Linked DNA regions of Homo sapiens: region 2 is linked to region 1. The links are contacts of gene promoters, found by promoter capture Hi-C in blood cells and fetal thymus (Javierre and others, 2016). All regions are on one chromosome and are shown on one strand. Each heading gives the region's core, a stretch centred on a gene start or on the middle of the fragment in contact. The rest is flanking DNA. Distances are from core to core; before and after follow the strand shown.

Region 1 (3,296 bases), core at 294-2,793:
TCTGTGTGAGGCTCCCTCCTTACTCTGTGGCTTGGGCTGTGACACTGACTAGCTGGGCTATCTTCTGCCAGGCTATGACTGTCCATGCCTTTCCATGTCCAGCTATAAAATGTGGCACAAGACAGCAGCTCTCTCTCAGAGACTCAGCTGCGCCTCCTCCTCTTGCCCTGCGCTCTAGAACTCCTTGATCCTGAGGCCTGGCAGGCCCCACAGGGCCATCTCCAGCCTCGGCAAGGGCGGATCGGACCTAGAGGTGCTCATGTTGGGGGTGATAAGGTTAGGCGAGGCCTTGGCATCTGTCCCCATAACAGCTTTAGCCTTCTAAACACAAAGCCACAGCCAGACGTTGCTGCCTGGAGCCAAAGGGCTGCCTGGAAGGCCCTGGCCTGAGCTCAGTTAGTGGCTGTCACTAAGGAAGGCAAGCAGTGCACTAGCCTTTAATACTTAACCCATCTCAGACTCAGTCTGCTCAGCTGCAAAAGTGCAAATCACAGTGGGCACCTACTTCACTGGTTCGTTATGAGGATTAATGAGGCACTGCATGTAAACAACTGCACGCAGCGCGCGCCTGCCTCATAGAACACTCCCTGTGAATGTAAGCCATTCCTCCTCTGAGGCTCAGGAAAGGCAAGTATCTTGTCTCAGACCACAGGGCTAGACAACTGGAGGAGGAGGGTTGTAAATCCCCCACCAACTCCACACAGCAGACACAAAAGGGAACACTCCCTGGGAGTGACACCTGAAGGTCAGGGTCCCACATGCTGTTGACCTCTTCCACAGTTGGCACTTCACTTCAGAGTTTACTAGCTAGAACTCCGTTTGTCATCAACCCCGCGCCTTCAGCAGGACAGGAATCACGTCTTCCCCCTCCCCTACGTCTTGGGCAAGCAAACTAACGGCCAAGACATTGAATACCAGTCCGGGTCTCCGCCCCAAAGGGGCTCAGGCTACCGCGTGGCAGAGAGAACGAAAGTGAAGAACAAGAGCAAGACAAAACGCCGAGTCTCGGAGGCCAGGGCACTGGCCCTTCCATTGCTCGGTGCTCTCGGCCAGTTTCCTGCCCTTCCCAGCCTCAGTCCTCCACGGTTTCCCAAGGCATGGGAGCTCCCAAGGCGGCTCCAGCAGGACTTTTCGCTTCTGGGGAAGGTGGTGCCCCTGCTACCCGGACCTTCCCACCATGCTGACAAGGGTCGCAATCCTGCGAGTGTCAGGAAACCCCCACTGACTGGAACCAGGCGGGTGTGGGGGCGAGGCGGGAGTCGGCCCAAGGTCGCGCGACTGGACCCTGCCCCGCGCTAGGGAGGGGTCCCTTTCGTTCCTAGGGTGAAGACTGGGCCCACAGAGAGGCACTGACCGGGCTCGAGCGGCGGCCCCGCTGCCTCCGCCTCCGTCCTCATGACCCGGGCGGCGCGGGGCGCCCATGGCCCCGGCCCAGAGCGGGCTACAGCTTCCGCTTCGGCTGGGGCGGGAGGGCGGTCGGTGCGTGTCGAGTTCCTTCTCCGCCACCGCCGCCGCTGCGGAGGAGAGAACGGGAGGCGGCGGCTGGGCCGCCCCAAGCGCCGCCCCAGCCCTTCCAGGTCTCGAATCTGGAGGCCCCGCCCCCTCCTTAGGCCCCGCCCCAAACTTTGATCTTAGAGGTCCCCAGCCTCTTGATTTAAGTCTGCTCCGGCCATTCGCCGCCTCAGCGTTGAGTGGCCCCACCCTCTCGCCCAATCCTCGCGCAGACGCGCAGCTCACCAGGACGCGGGCCCCGGAAGCCCCGCCCCTTTCTTTGAGCCCCGCCCCAAAGCTCGTGCATTTCCTGAATAGAGGCTCGTCCCTTCGGCAAGCCCCGCCTCTGCCGGGTCCCGCTCTTTTGCCAGTCCTAGGTGTAAGCCCTGATCCCGCCCAGTGCATCCCCGAGGCCCCAAGCAACTCTCCTCCAACTGTCTTTAGGGATAACCCTGAGCGGGCAGCCGCTCTACTCTATACCTAACTTTATCCGTACCAGATACCTAGCCTCACTCAGGGCCCCCCTTACCTGGCGGTGCCGGGATCAACAAATGAAATTGTGACGGGAAGTCCTGGCCCTTGGCCCAACCTCCTGCTGTCCCCGGTCTGAGGGCCCAAGCCCCGCGTCTCCGCCTTGCCGTCCAGCCTGTCCTTGGTGTGGGGTGCTTGGAAGTGTGAGCACCCTCTCTGGCTCTTTGCCGGCCCCAAGGGTCGTTGCGGCGGCCCCCGGGCCCAGTCATCAGCCCTCTTTTCCGGTGCCGGAACTATCGTACTGGTGCCCTAGTTTCCCAGCCGGCAGGCGGAGTGAGGAGGAAGCGGAGGCGAGACCGCGCTCAACACTGGGGAAAGGAAGGAGGCGGGCCCTGCGCGCAGCATTTTGGGAAAGAGTGGAATTCTGGGTGTTAGGCCCGCCATTCGCTTGACTCACGCCTTCGCCGTAGCATCTTTCGCAGCGGACCGAAGAGAAGAAAAGTAGGCCAGAGCCGGTGAGGCTGGGGACGGGCGAGGGGAGGTCGAGGCGCCTGTGAGGGGCCAGGGGCTGGAGAAAGACTTGCTGCATGGAACTCTGCGGGGCTCGGGGAGGGAAGAAAGCGGGAAGCTTGGGCCACCCAAACATCAGCGTCGCCTCACTAGCTCCTGGAAGTAAGTTCATTAGCTTTCCCCTCAACGTGCATGCTTCTCACATTCTGTATCTCTCCAGGTGAGTGTTTTTCAAAGCTTCCAGGCAGTAATCTCGAAGTCATTTCTGATTGACTATCTCCTTCCCCCAAATCCTATGAGTTTTTTTTTGTTTTTTTTTTTTTAAGTAGAGACGGGGTTTCACCATGTTGCCCTGGCTGGTCTCGAACTCCTGGGCTCAAGGGATCCACCGGCCTCGGCCTTCCAAAGTGCTGGGATTACAGGCGTGAGCCACCGCGCCCAGCCGGTCATTTTTTAAAAAGTTCTTTGTATCTCTGCCCCAGTCCCCTTTCAGGCAATGGTCCCCTCATGCTTTCCACACTGTTGCAGCAGTTTTAACTGTTGCAGAAGTTTTAACAAGTTTCTCTGCTTCTAAACCTTACGTTCTATCCATTTTGTAAATAAATGCTGCTATCTTTTCATTGCGTCATTCTTTACATATAATTCTGCAGTGGTTCTCCACTACCTTCAGCATAAAATCTAGACTCCTAAGGCTGAAAGCCAGGGATCCTCACCAAAGGAGCCTGTCCTTTCAACCTCATGTTCTCCTGTCTTAGGTACGCTTAAGTTGAAACTTAGAGTTGTTGCTCATCTCAATAAAAAGTTCACTGCTTGATGCTTTTGAT
Region 2 (3,296 bases), core at 319-2,818, 1.4 Mb before region 1:
GGCAAAACCCCATCTCTACTAAAAAAATTTAAAAATTAGCCAAGCATGGTTGGTGCGCACCTGTGGTCCCAGCTACTCGGGAGGCTGAGGCAGGAGAATCGCTTGAGCCGGGAGGCGGAGATTGCAGTGAGCCGAGATCACACTACTGCACTCCAGCCTGGGCGACAGAGTGAGACTCCATCTCAAAAAAAAAAAAAAAAAAAAAAAAAAAACAGCTAAAGGAGGAGTTCAGGGTGATCTCTAGCTCCTGCCAAATCCCCAAATCCAAATTAGTAAGTGACCCCACAGCTTAATCTTCCCTTCTCCTAAATCCCATTGGCACACTCCCTTCCCCTAATTCTCTATTTACTTCTCTGCTTCCCGCAGTGGACTCCAATTTCCCTGAGGGTGGACACCATGTCCGTTCTCTTTCCTTGTCTCCCCAGTGCTAGGCATATACCAGGAAGCTTTCAGTACATGTAGGACAAATGAATAGTTAATGGACTTGAATCAAGCTTTACAGTATAAAAGCACTTTCACCATCTCAGGTGATCCATTGAAATAGATAGTTGCGTTTATTTTATAGTTGAGTAAACTGAGGTGCGGAAGGTGGAACAACTCACCTAAGTTCACCCCCTAAGCCTCAACCTTAGCAGTGAAACTCACTAAAAGACATTAAACAGAGCCAGGTGTGGTGGCCCTTGCCTGTAGTCCCAAGGACTGGGGAGGCTGAGGCGGGAGGATTCCTTGAGCCTAGGAGTTCGAGTCCAGCCTGGACAACATAGCAAGACTCCATCTCTTTAAAAAAAAAAAAAAAAGACATCAAACACCAGCCTCCAGCACACTTAGCTTTGAATTGAAGATGACTGAGTTAGATCTGTGTACCAAGGCTTCCATATTGTGATGCAGAAAAGTTAAGGAGCTGAATTAAGTAGGTTCTCAAACTGAACCCCGGACTTCGAAGCTGGTTCCACGGTTTTATAAGGGCCACAAGAGGCCATCTAGCCCAAAACAGCTAACTTTCCAAACCGAAACTAGTTCAGAGGAAATCACTGACTCAGGTCAGCTTTTTATTAAGGAAATTAATTTTGTACCGTGAGCTCTAGAAGCCAGGCATATGATATTCAGACAGCACTGGATTCAGAACTATGCAGACTAAGGTCAGTAGATGGTAGGCAGGTCTATCTTCTGCAGCTGCAGGGTGCTTGACTCCAATTAAACATCAATACCACATCAGGAGCTCTTATGCCATAACCGCCCAACCTCTCCCAGCCGAGCTGATCACCAGAACCTGCGCGAATCTCTCCACGGTCAGCCCCACCCAGGGCTCAGGCTCCGCCCCCGGGCCTCCATAGCCCCGCCCACCGCCCACCCATCCAGCACCGCCCTTGTTGTCATGGTGATCTCCGGCTCTCCAGGGTGTCCAGGAGTCTCTCTGCTGCCAGCCCCGCCCAGACTCCAGGCAGGTTCTCGTTGCTATGGTGATCGCCGGTGCAAGCTGGATGCTTGGACGCGCCGCTGCCAGTCCAACGCAGACCCCGCCCACGACGTCGACGATTCGTGTAGCCCGCAGGTCCCGCGTGGCTCTCGTTGCCATGGTGATCGCCGCCGCTGGCTCAGGCGGACCAGGCCGCGCGGAGCCCCAGCTTTCACAGCCATCGCTGGTGAGTCAGCTCGCCCACTCTGTCCGACCCTCCCGGTCACCCAACCCCGTGCTGGCACATCCCGAGGCCAGGGCCGCGAGGGCACAGCGTCCGCGCCCACTTCCCGCCCCTATAACTTGAAAGCGGCCTGCGGCCCCGGGGCGTCCTCATTTCCGGAGCGCAAACTCTGGGCCAGGCCCGCGCTGGTTGTGGAGGAGAGCCAGGTCAGATGCGGGAAGACAACCGGACTCCGCCAGGACCACCCCAGCCCAGCCTGGAGAGGAGTCCGGACAGAAAAAGGAGACAGAGGGGCTGTTGAGGAGGCTCGAGGAGTCAGAGGCCTGGTGAAGTGAGGGTTTTCAGGGAAAAGGCCTAGTTGGCTGAAAGTTAAGGCCCCCAGGCCCACCTAGAGCCTTCGTCCTTTGCAGACTGGGAGCAGGAGACCCCTCCCCACTCTACTTCCACTGCCTGAGCTGTGCCATGCCTCACAGCCCAGTAAGGTAAGCTCAGAGGGGAGCTCCTCCTTGGTAGACACCTGTCAAGGGGAGACCCAGGTCTTCTGACTCCCAGGCAGGGTGGGGCAGGCCTGGTTCCCCCATACCATGCTGCCTGCTGTATGCAGATTGAGAGAAATGGCCTCTGCCCCATATTCCTGACAGAGAGGGAAGCCTGGATCTGGTTTTATTTATAATTCTTGAGACAAGGTCTTACTCTATCACCCAGGCTGGAGTGCAGTGGCACCTTCACGGTTCACTGCACCCTTGACCTCCCAGGCTCAAGCATTCCTCCCACCTTCCTCCCAAGTAGCTGGGACTGCAGGCACAGGCCACCATGCCCTGCTAATTTTTTTGGTTTTTTTTTGTAGAGACTGAGGTTTCACTTTGTTGCCCAGGCTGGTCTCAACCTCCTGGGCCCAAGTGATCCTCCCACCTTGGCCTCCCAAAGTGCTGGGATTACAGGCATGAGCCACTGCACCCAGCCTGGATCTGATGAAAAGTTAGGTGGAAACTCATGGGTGAATCCCCAGGTATTTGCACAGCTCCTTAACTGTCTTTCTCCTGGTTGGGTCCACAGGACTGTGGAAGAATGAGGTCCTCCCTGACACCTTTGGGGCCCCCTGTGAGCCGCGACCGTGTCATCGCCAGCTTCCCTAAGGTAGAGAGTCATTACGTCTGCAGTGCTCTCCTGGCCCTGCAGCCACATCAGCTCTCCCCACTCTACACTCATGCCTAGAAGTAAAGCAGGTGAATCAAGGAGGTCTGTCCATTGTCAGATTTACCTTGAGGAGCTGGGAGACTGGTCACTGACTGCCCAAGGTGGGACCGCAAGTTAATGGTGACACTGGGCAGCAGTGTGGCCTGGAGGTTATAAGGGCTGGGATTTTGCAGCCAGACAGTCCTTGATGTGAATCCTTCATTCTGATTCTGTCATTAAGCTGTGTGGCTGTGGGCAAATTACTCAACCTCTCAGAGCCACTGTTACATGAAGGTAATTCCTCTCATATTGGGTGCCTGGCTCATGGTATGCAGGAGCTCCCCTGCAGTCATAGTTGCTGTTGTTCTCATCATCGTTGTTGTTATCAAAACAGCATTCCAGTTCCATGACCCCAAATCCAGGGCTCTCTCCTCTTGCCATTCCGCCTCTATGAGCTTGAAAACTCACAGCTCTCTTGTG

What was found. The method cuts DNA at HindIII sites, captures the fragments that hold promoters and counts their contacts. A CHiCAGO score of 5 or more calls a contact.
Region 2: a contact is called between the fragment with the promoter of RAB36 here and the fragment with the promoter of GUCD1 in region 1, in 1 of 17 cell types (non-activated CD4 T cells). The highest score is 5.3, in non-activated CD4 T cells.

What each region holds. Positions count from the first base shown.
Region 1 is chr22:24,553,595-24,556,890 of GRCh38, forward strand. GUCD1 (guanylyl cyclase domain containing 1) reads right to left here and starts at 1,544. Exons shown (of 6, transcript NM_001284254.2): 1 at 1,355-1,544. The coding sequence starts at 1,397. It overlaps SNRPD3 (small nuclear ribonucleoprotein D3 polypeptide), which reads left to right and starts at 2,405. Exons shown (of 4, transcript NM_004175.5): 1 at 2,405-2,477. RefSeq lists a silencer at 1,293-1,652 and an enhancer at 2,113-2,212. The HindIII fragment of the contact is 4,396 bases long and covers 1-2,588 here.
Region 2 is chr22:23,143,909-23,147,204 of GRCh38, forward strand. RAB36 (RAB36, member RAS oncogene family) reads left to right here and starts at 1,569. Exons shown (of 11, transcript NM_004914.5): 1 at 1,569-1,643; 2 at 2,697-2,777. The coding sequence starts at 2,709. It also overlaps a transcript of RSPH14 not described here. RefSeq lists a silencer at 1,322-1,391. The HindIII fragment of the contact is 8,574 bases long and covers 493-3,296 here.